Regions from separate parts of the Homo sapiens genome. Here all the other regions are linked to region 1. The links are contacts of gene promoters, found by promoter capture Hi-C in blood cells and fetal thymus (Javierre and others, 2016). All regions are on one chromosome and are shown on one strand. Each heading gives the region's core, a stretch centred on a gene start or on the middle of the fragment in contact. The rest is flanking DNA. Distances are from core to core; before and after follow the strand shown.

Region 1 (2,945 bases), core at 186-2,685:
CCCCAGAGCCCCCCCAGGAGTCCCTGCTGTGCTCACACTGACTTGGGGAGGGTCCTATGGGAAGGACGGGCCTGGCCTGAGCTGGGCAGAAATGAGGTGTTGCCTGAGCCCCAAGCCAGGGCTGGGGTGAAATATGACTGTGGCCTTCACGGAGTTGGGGGAGGCAACGAGGGGACAGGCTGTGCTATCCCAAAAGAAGCTGAAGGGCCACAAGATGGGGACCCAGGGGAAAGAACCCCAGGACTGCTTCCCATGGGGCTGTGGCTGGGTGCTGGCCTCACAGGCACCTGATCCCTGGGCCCCAGCAGCTGGCTGTCCACTGGACTCTCCCAGGGACACACACAGCCCAGACAGGGAAGGCACCTCCCTAGGATCTGACGCATGGACTCCAGGCCATCCAGGGCAGCGTTGGTTGGGTGGTGATGGGAGAGAAGGCTGAGATATCCTGGGATAGTTCCAGGGAAGCTAAAGATGGGAGTGCTCCAGCCCTCAGACTCCACAGGACACTCCATCACAGGGCCCAGCACCGGGACCCTGCATTCTGCCCACGAGGGTCCGAGGCTCACTGGCACTCCCCCGCCCCCGCCTCCCCTCCTGCCCTGCTCCCTGGTTTCTGTTTATACCTGGCCTTGTTGGTTAGACTGTGAGTTCCCAGAGGGCAGGGGAGCCTGGCCCACTCTGAGTGCCAAGAAAGATTTTTCGATACCATGGAGTGCAGGAAGTGGGTAGGTTTATGACTAGAGATAGATGCAGGCCTCCGTTTTCCATCTTTGCTGAAGCTGGCCAGGCGTCCACCAGGGGTCTGGGCACAAGATGGGGTACAGAAGGAAAGAGAGTGGAAGAGCGAGAAAGGGCTGGTAAGGGGGCTCCTGCTGGAAGGGACAACAGTAGGGACAGAATGAGGGCCCTGCCAGAGGGAATCTCAGCGCTCCATGTAATGCCCCAGGGGCCTCAGTCCCCATCTTCTGTGACAAGATCCATGTCCTGCTCACAGGCACCACCCAGGTACACAGGATCACACACCTATGGGTGCCACCCACGCACAGGCATGGCACACACGCCAGCCCACAGCTTCCCCCAAGCCTGGAGTCCACCTCCAGCCGACCTGTGCCCTCACCACAGAACCCAGACTCTGGGCCATGTGTGCTCTCTTCTTCTGGTCCCAGCCCCGTGCCTGATGCTGACCTGTTCCCCAGAGTAGGCACCTAAAAGGCAGAGGGAAGAGGGGGCCACACCCCAAGGCTAGCAGTGGGGGAAACAGGGAAGCAGGGGCCTCTAGCTAAGCTGGGGACGCCAGTCAGCACAGACACTGCCGCAGGTCCAGGTTGATGTTGAGCGGTTAGTGACCAGGAAGCCTCCCCACCCACCAGAGTCCAAAGAGCACAGGCGTGGCTGCCTCTGTAACCTCATCAAAGGCAGGCTCTGCCTGTGGCCACTAGCAGAGAAGCTGCTGTCCTTCCACCACCAGCACCGGACCACCTGCTCCAAGACCAGCCTCCTGGGGGGACCAGGCACCCGGCCTTCACTGGCACCCAGGTAAGGGCCTGGCCCCCAGGGAAGATCGGGGCCCAGCCCAGTCACAGGGGATCTCAGGGCAGGTGGGGGCAACTCAGTGGCTTCCCAGGCCAGGTCTCCAGCCTGTTCCCAGCTGCAGCCCAGGGGATCAAGCCCAAGGAGGGGCTTGGGACTCAGCAGCTGGCTGGTGGGCTGGAAAGCAGAGCGAGGTCCAGGCTCCGGAAGGGCCTCTGGGATGCTTGCCCCAGGGTCTATGAGGTGATGGCCTTCCCTGCTCCAAACCCCTACATCTAGGGCTTAAAGGGGGGAAATGGGCTGTCACAGCTCCCCTACCCCTAAGGGGCAAGGCAGGCCAAGCCAGCTCCCTCTTCCCTCCCTGGGGTAGGGAATCTTTGGCTGCAGCTGTTTCCCCACCTTGACCTACCTACCTAGAGGGCCCCACAGGGCCCACCCTGGTGTTGAGGGAGTGGGGAGTGGGGCTGACCAGGGGCAGACCTCACTTCCTCTTCTGCATGGAGAGCATGGAGAAGCAGGAAGTGTTACAATGGGGGTTGGGGGAGGCTGGGGAAGGGGAACAGGCTTCTAGCCCCGCCTTACCCCTGGAGAGAAAAGGGGTCCTCCCAAACAAGGAAACCAGAGATCCAGCCGTCCCTTCCACATTCCCTTAATTGTTCACTGGCAGTTTATTTCCTTCCACACTGAGTCATCTTATCAGATCCTACGTCATTTTCACAACAGTCCTAATAAACAAGGGTATGGGTTGCTCTCTCACATGTTACCCGGGGTAGTCCAGTATTTCTGCACAACTGAGGTGTACCATGTAGACATGTGGATACCCACAAACCTCATTTGGATAACACATACCCTTGACCCGCACAGACTAACACCACCCCCACCCGGGACACACACACCACATTTAATTCCACTCCATTTCAACATGTATGTTCTCTAGACTCCCTCTGTGACTGCGCACAGCCCAGCGGCAGAGGCATGTTTATAAACCATTAAAACACGAAGCTTGCAATCGGACAGATCTGGGTTGCTCTCTATTAAACGTTCATTTGTGACCTCAGGCCTGTTACCGTCTTTGAGCCTCAGAGTCCTCATATGGTAAATGGGGACAATACCAGTACCTGCCTTGTGAGGTTGTTTTGAGGATTAGAGTGACTGAAGGTAACGCCGTTAGAACAGTGCTAGGCACGTGGCGCCAAGTAAGTACAAGTGGACGGCAGTGAGGAGAAACTGATAGGATGTTGGTAAGGGGCTCAGCACCAGGCTCACAGCACCGTGGTGGCTATTGTGACTATTGTTGCTGGAGATAAATGTACAAGGTCCAGTGCAGCATTAGGAGGGTACCCTGGGCAGGGTGGGGTTGGATGGTCCAGGAGGGCTTCACCAAGAGGGTGATCTTTGAGCTAGAATTTAAAGGG
Region 2 (3,049 bases), core at 73-2,572, 230 kb after region 1:
TACTAAAAATACAAAAATTAGCTAGGCATGGTGACACATGCCTGTAATCCCAGCTACTCAGGAGGCTGAGGCAGGAGAATCGCTTGAACCCAGGAGGTGGAGGTTGCAGTGATCTGAGATCGCACCATTGCACTCCAGCCTGGGCAATAAGAGTGAGACTCTGTCTCAAAAAATAATAATAATAAATAATAATAATAATAATGCTACTAGTTCTTGAAGGCCCACTTTGGGAGGCACTTCTTATGCTGTATCTTATTAAATGATCTCAGTCAGGGTGTGGAGTAGCTACTGACAGCACACCCCCAACCCCACCTGCCAGTCCCTCCTTTTAGTAAAGCTTAGCACAATGGAGGGGGCAAGAAGACCAAGATGGAGAAACTGAGTGTGATCCCCCAAACCACATAAGAGATCCATGGCTCACTATGCTGTGCACACACCCAGGAAGGGAATCCTGTTACAGGACGGGGACCAGGCCCTGTTTCCAACAGTGGCACCCCTTCCCTTGGTATCATGGCAGGGCCCTTGCTGCTGAGGACTGATCTTTGCATCCTAGACTTGCTCCCTGGTACAGTTTTACCCAACCCTTGTGCACCAGCACCTCGTGACAGGGTCGTGTCTGCCCATCCACCCTTTTCTGCCCCAGGATGAGACCTGGAAGCCAATCAAGTTTATCTTTCATTCATCCATCCACTTCTTCAATAAACATTGAAGACTTCTTATGTTGCCACTGCCCCCTCCCTAGAGCCCCTTGCCTGCTCAGTGGCACCCACTACCCTCCTTCTCTGCCTTGTGTCAGAATCTGCTCTCAGGAAAGAGGTTGATAAACCCATTTGCACTGATAGCAACTTAATGTGTTCTTTCCCAGGAATATTAACAATTTAACAGGGAACAAAGAGAAGAAGCAGAACGTTGGGATTCCAGCATCGACCAGGGATGTCCCTGAGATCCCACAACATAGACTGCCTGTCAGCCGCCTACTCCCTAGCCAGGCCTCCCCCGCCAAGCTGCTGGCATTGTGTCCTCTTGGCATCCACCTCCATCCGCATGGGCACCCAACCCCCCCGCCCCTGCCAACCAGACAGCAGGCTTACAGCTGGGACCTCCACACCACAGCTCAGTTCCTGGCTTCCTGGGGCCCCCCTGTACCAGCACCAGCCATGCCTGCTTTCCAAGCACTCACCTCACCCTGCCCAGCATCTGGGAGCCAGGCCAAGGGGCTGAGGAGGGAGGCAGAGGAAAGCAGAGGTGAGAGCCCTTCCATTCTCTTTATTCCCCCACTGTCTGGCCTACACCCCCTGCCAGGAGCTGAGATCCAATGGTATATTCAGCCTGCAGCTGCCACTGGTCATGTGAGCCCATTGCTAGGTTACAGGGACCCAAAAATAAATCCTTCCCAACCAGATTAGAAACTGGGGGCCTCGGATGAACCAGGCTCAAAAGAGTGGCAGGAACACCCACAGTGCATGTTTAGGCCAGGCCTGCTATGGACCAGGGCCCTTCCCATGCTGCCCACCTCCTGTCCATCAGCAGGGGCTCAATGCTGGAACCCCACAGAAAAGTCCCAGAGAGCTCCTGGGTCTCCTATTTATTAATAACACAATAAATAGGTCTACAGGTTGAGTGGCCCTTCCTCACTAGCAATCAGGGTAATATCCTCTGCATGTTCTTCCCATCCAACCTTCCCATCATCAGCCTGTCCCTCCACAGGCCCTGCCCTACACCCAGTGCATGGGCAAAGCGAATTAGTCATTTGCCCTGTGGCCTGGGGGCCATCTGCCCTAACAGTCCTTTTCCAGACTCGGGAAGGGAGCTCTGGCAGTAGGCACAGCACTAGGCGTATTCGTGTGAGTAGTCTTACACAATCTTCTCTGTTAGTCTCAATGATTCCATTTACAGATATGGACACTGGGGCTTAGAGAGGTTAAGTGACTTTTGCAGAGCCACACAGTTGAGCAACTGGGGTTCAAACCCCAGATCTATACTATGGGGATGAGGCAAGGAAGAAGACAGGGAAGCACAGTTATGGAAAGGGGAGTTCCCCAAAACCCTTCCCTGGGGCCTGAAAACTTGGCACTTTAATTGCTCTGAATTGGAGGGGAGTTATCTCCCCCTGGAACTTCTTTCACATCCTCCAAGCCAGGACGCAGCTTACCCAGGCCACGTACCTCCTTCCCCATGGCTTTGGGCTCTGTCCCCTTCTCTGGGAAATACTGTCCAGGACCTGGGTGGGGTCATCCCCGGTGCTGAAGCCTGGGGAGGCAGACACAAATCCCCACTGCTCAGCACAACCCTGCTTCAGAAGCTTGACATAGGGCCAGAGTAGCAAAGCTGAAAGGATCACAGGAGGTCAGGTGTCTAACTCCTGATTTTACAGATGAACAGGCCTAGAGTGGAAAGGGAACTTGCCCAGGGCTAGGCTACACAGCTAGAGGGTAAAGGAGGTGCAACCAGAACCCAAGCCTCCGGAGTCCTGCTCCTTTTTTCAGCTTGTCATTAATGGCGCACATTTGGGTTCCTGGGGCCCTTCCTCAACCCACCATATCCCTAGGACCTCCCAGCTGTCTGTTTTCTTCAGCTCCTCCTCCCCAGCAAGGTTCTGAGAAGGCCCAGACACCCCACTTACCTCTGTACTGTCCTTGTCTCCCCATTTTGAGTACATTCCTATGGTCTCCTGAAGCCTGGGAGCACCCTATTCCCACCTCCTTCAGCTCCTAGCAGCCCAAACTGCAGGCTCTATGTCACTCCATTCAAGACATGTTTATTGAGCAACTACTATATGCAAAGCTCTGTATAGGAAGTGAGGAAGAGGGTTACAAAGATTAAACAAATACAGACTTGCCTTCTTGGTGCTTATGTCTAGGATGGGGACAATGCAGGCTGTAAGTGTCAAGGGATGGTGAAATTGCTGGGGAGATTCAAAGGAAAAAGTGAACTTACTTCCTCATGAAATCTAGGAAGACTTCATGAAGGAAGTGGCACGGGTCTTAAAGGAGGAGTAGGATTTTAACTGTGAGTAACTGAAAGAGGCTGAGGACAGTAGTCTAGATGG
Region 3 (2,853 bases), core at 244-2,743, 230 kb before region 1:
AGATCAGATTTCAGGGAGGTAAAGGTGGAACTAGCACAGGACTCTATGTGCTCCAACCTCTAAATCCGGCTGTGTCTTTCTACATAATTCTCTCTCCCAGTGTCCCATTTCATTCATGTTTCTGCAGTACGCGTTACACACTGCACTAACCCTCAGGCAGGGTTTGGCCATTCTTTCAAGTTTAACACCAACTTTTCCAGCAACAGAGATATATTAACGTTGGTATAAATGTTAAGGCAAACCCTTATCTGCCGTCCCGCTTTTTATCCCGGGTACTATTTGGTAACAAAGCAACAGTGACAGACCCCTTCAAGACCAAAAAGGAGTATTTTTCTGCATGAGTCTCAGATCTGCTCACTTTGGCTTAAGGAGAAAGCTGCTCTCCTGGCTACTGGCTCACCAGCTTAGTTGACTGTCTGAGTTCTGCCCTCCTTTTCTTCCTGTCATCTTTCTCTAATCTCTACTCTGGCTATTTCAACAGCCCTTCAACTCCTGTCACTTTCTGTGTTTTTGAAGCCAGAATTTCACTAAAATGTCCTCATGATCTTTATAACTTTACTATCACTCTCAGTCTAGGAATTCATAACATAAATTAGCACATTAGGGAAATTCTTATTCTGACTTGACTTTTAATCTATTGAGCACCAGAAGCCCAGCCAACTAGAAACTAGGGTAAGAGGGAGAACAGAGTCAGAATCATTCTTAGCATTTCACATAAAACATAGACTCTTTAGCTTAGAGAAGGCTTAGCCATTCCCTCTTTTTCTAGTGATATCCTTGAGTTGTTTACATACTGCTTTGGCTGTACAGATCAAGAAACTACAACCCAGTCTGGCGAGGAGATAATGGTTCCAAACACCCAATTCAGGGCCTGGCTTTATCCCAATCACCACATCCTCAAATCTAGACAAGTCTTCTAGGTTCTTAGCCCTGGGTCCATGGATGGGTTGCAGGCTGCCAATTCCCCCTTACAAGGTCCTGTGCTGTGTAATGAAGGTTGGTCAATGATGGACCACATATACAGTGGTGGTTCCATAAGAATATGATAGAGCTGAAAAATTCCTATCGCCTGGTGACATCGTAGTGCAGTGCATTACTCACATGTTTGTGGTGATGCTGGTGTAACAAACCTACTGCGTTGCCAGTCATTTAAAGTCTCTCTGACGTTTGCACAACAACAAAATTGCCTAAGGGCACAGTTTACAGAATGTATCCCCCTTGTTAAGTGACACATGACTGTGTGCATTTTGCTGGAATACGTACACATCTCTCAGAGGGTTCCAAACCCCCAATGGTTAAGAACCACTTCACTGGACTTAAATGATCCAAATAATAACCTCACAAGAATGTCAGCTCTACAGAGTATGAATCTTTGTTTTGTTCACTGATGCACCCTAAGTGCCTAGCACAGGCCCTGGGACGCTGCACCCTGAGCAGATGGGGCTACATGATTCCTGGTCATGGTTTACTCTGAATACATTGAGAAAAAGAGCAACGGTAGACTATTTTCAGGACCTTTCACATGAGGGAGGACCAAGATTTCTCCTCGTGATCAAAATCATCCAGGAGAGTTGGTAGCTGCATTACCATCTTTTTTTCTTTTTTGAGACATAGTCTTGCTCTGTTGCCCAGGCTGGAGTGTAGTCATGCCATCTCGGCTCACTGCAACCTGCTCCGCCCCATGGGTTCAAGCGATTTTCCTGCCTCAGCCTTCTGTGTAGCTGGGACTACAGGCACCTGCTACCACACCCGGCTAATTTTTGTATTTTTAGTAGAGATGTTGGCCAGGCTGGTCTCGAACTCCTGACCTGAGGTGATCTGCCTGCCTTGGCCTCCCAAAGTGTTGGGATTACAGGCGTGAGCCACCGTGCCTGGGCCATTACCATCTCAATGTTAGATTTCCGAACAATGTTGGCCAGTCTTGCTAGATAATCTAAAAGAATGGTTCTAAATCTGGGAGATTTCAAGTTTATCTGGTGAAGCTGTTTCAAAATGCCAACCCATTCTCCATCTGTTCTCTTACTCTCAGCTCCTCCCCCATTCTGATTACACAGCTCTAGTTTAGAGCCAGGTAATGAGTTATTGCGAAAAAACCCTCTATGTGACTGATACCTTCTTCTCCTTCCACAGAATGAGAAGTGCTGATCTAAGAAATAATCTAAGCAGGATCTGAAAAGGAAACACAAGTACACTGAGTTTACTAGGCTCTTGATAAAGCAACTTCCAATACAGGGAACAAATGCATTAGATATGCCTTGTTCAGAAATAAAACAATAAGGCAAAGGAAGTAGAGAATCTACCTTTAATGCCAACTCCATCTGTTAGGAACAGACAATCCATCAGATGGATCCTAGGGGTTAGGAGAACATGACAAAGAGACTGTCTGAGGAAGACCGAGATTGTATTTTTATTAGTTTGGTCCAAATTCAGTAAAAATTGGCAAAGTGCTCTCATTCCAGACATGCCCAGTGCTCAGCTAATCCCCTCGCTGCGGAGTAAGAAAAGAATGTACAGAATTATGAACCCCCTGCTCCCCAAATAGGAGGGGCTCCACCTCCTGAATGCAAGGGCCGAAACTAATCTCATCAACCATCCCCTCCTAATTATAAACTAGGTAGAGAAATAAGGTGCTTAACACAGGTGTTCTCCTTCTAAACTTTATGATTTGTAAACATGCTTTACCCCACTTCCACTAAAAACCCAGCCTTTGCCAACCTCAATTCATTATTGATTGGCAAACAAGAACAGAAACTATCCCCAGAATAATGTTTCTCTCCGGGAAATCTTGGGGAAGGGGTGCAATAAGGTCAGCCCCACCAAGATGCATTTTCCTTGGACTTACAATACATCTTA

Evidence for each region. Contacts are between HindIII fragments. The CHiCAGO score rates a contact against its expected background, and 5 or more counts as called.
Region 2: a contact is called between a fragment that was not itself captured here and the fragment with the promoter of EPS8L3 in region 1, in 11 of 17 cell types (M0 macrophages, M1 macrophages, erythroblasts and 8 more). The highest score is 13.2, in M0 macrophages.
Region 3: a contact is called between a fragment that was not itself captured here and the fragment with the promoter of EPS8L3 in region 1, in 2 of 17 cell types (neutrophils and monocytes). The highest score is 7.9, in neutrophils.

What each region holds. Positions count from the first base shown.
Region 1 is chr1:109,762,413-109,765,357 of GRCh38, reverse strand. EPS8L3 (EPS8 signaling adaptor L3) reads left to right here and starts at 1,435. Exons shown (of 19, transcript NM_133181.4): 1 at 1,435-1,536. All of the region lies in intron 1 of LOC124904258 (a long non-coding RNA gene), which reads right to left. The HindIII fragment of the contact is 2,750 bases long and covers 1-2,534 here.
Region 2 is chr1:109,534,380-109,537,428 of GRCh38, reverse strand. No RefSeq gene overlaps it. Among named protein-coding and RNA genes, the nearest start is that of GPR61, 4.0 kb to the left of the region's middle. The HindIII fragment of the contact is 1,965 bases long and covers 340-2,304 here.
Region 3 is chr1:109,994,962-109,997,814 of GRCh38, reverse strand. All of the region lies in intron 1 of AHCYL1 (adenosylhomocysteinase like 1), which reads right to left. Among named protein-coding and RNA genes, the nearest start is that of AHCYL1, 12 kb to the right of the region's middle. The HindIII fragment of the contact is 8,580 bases long and covers 1-2,853 here.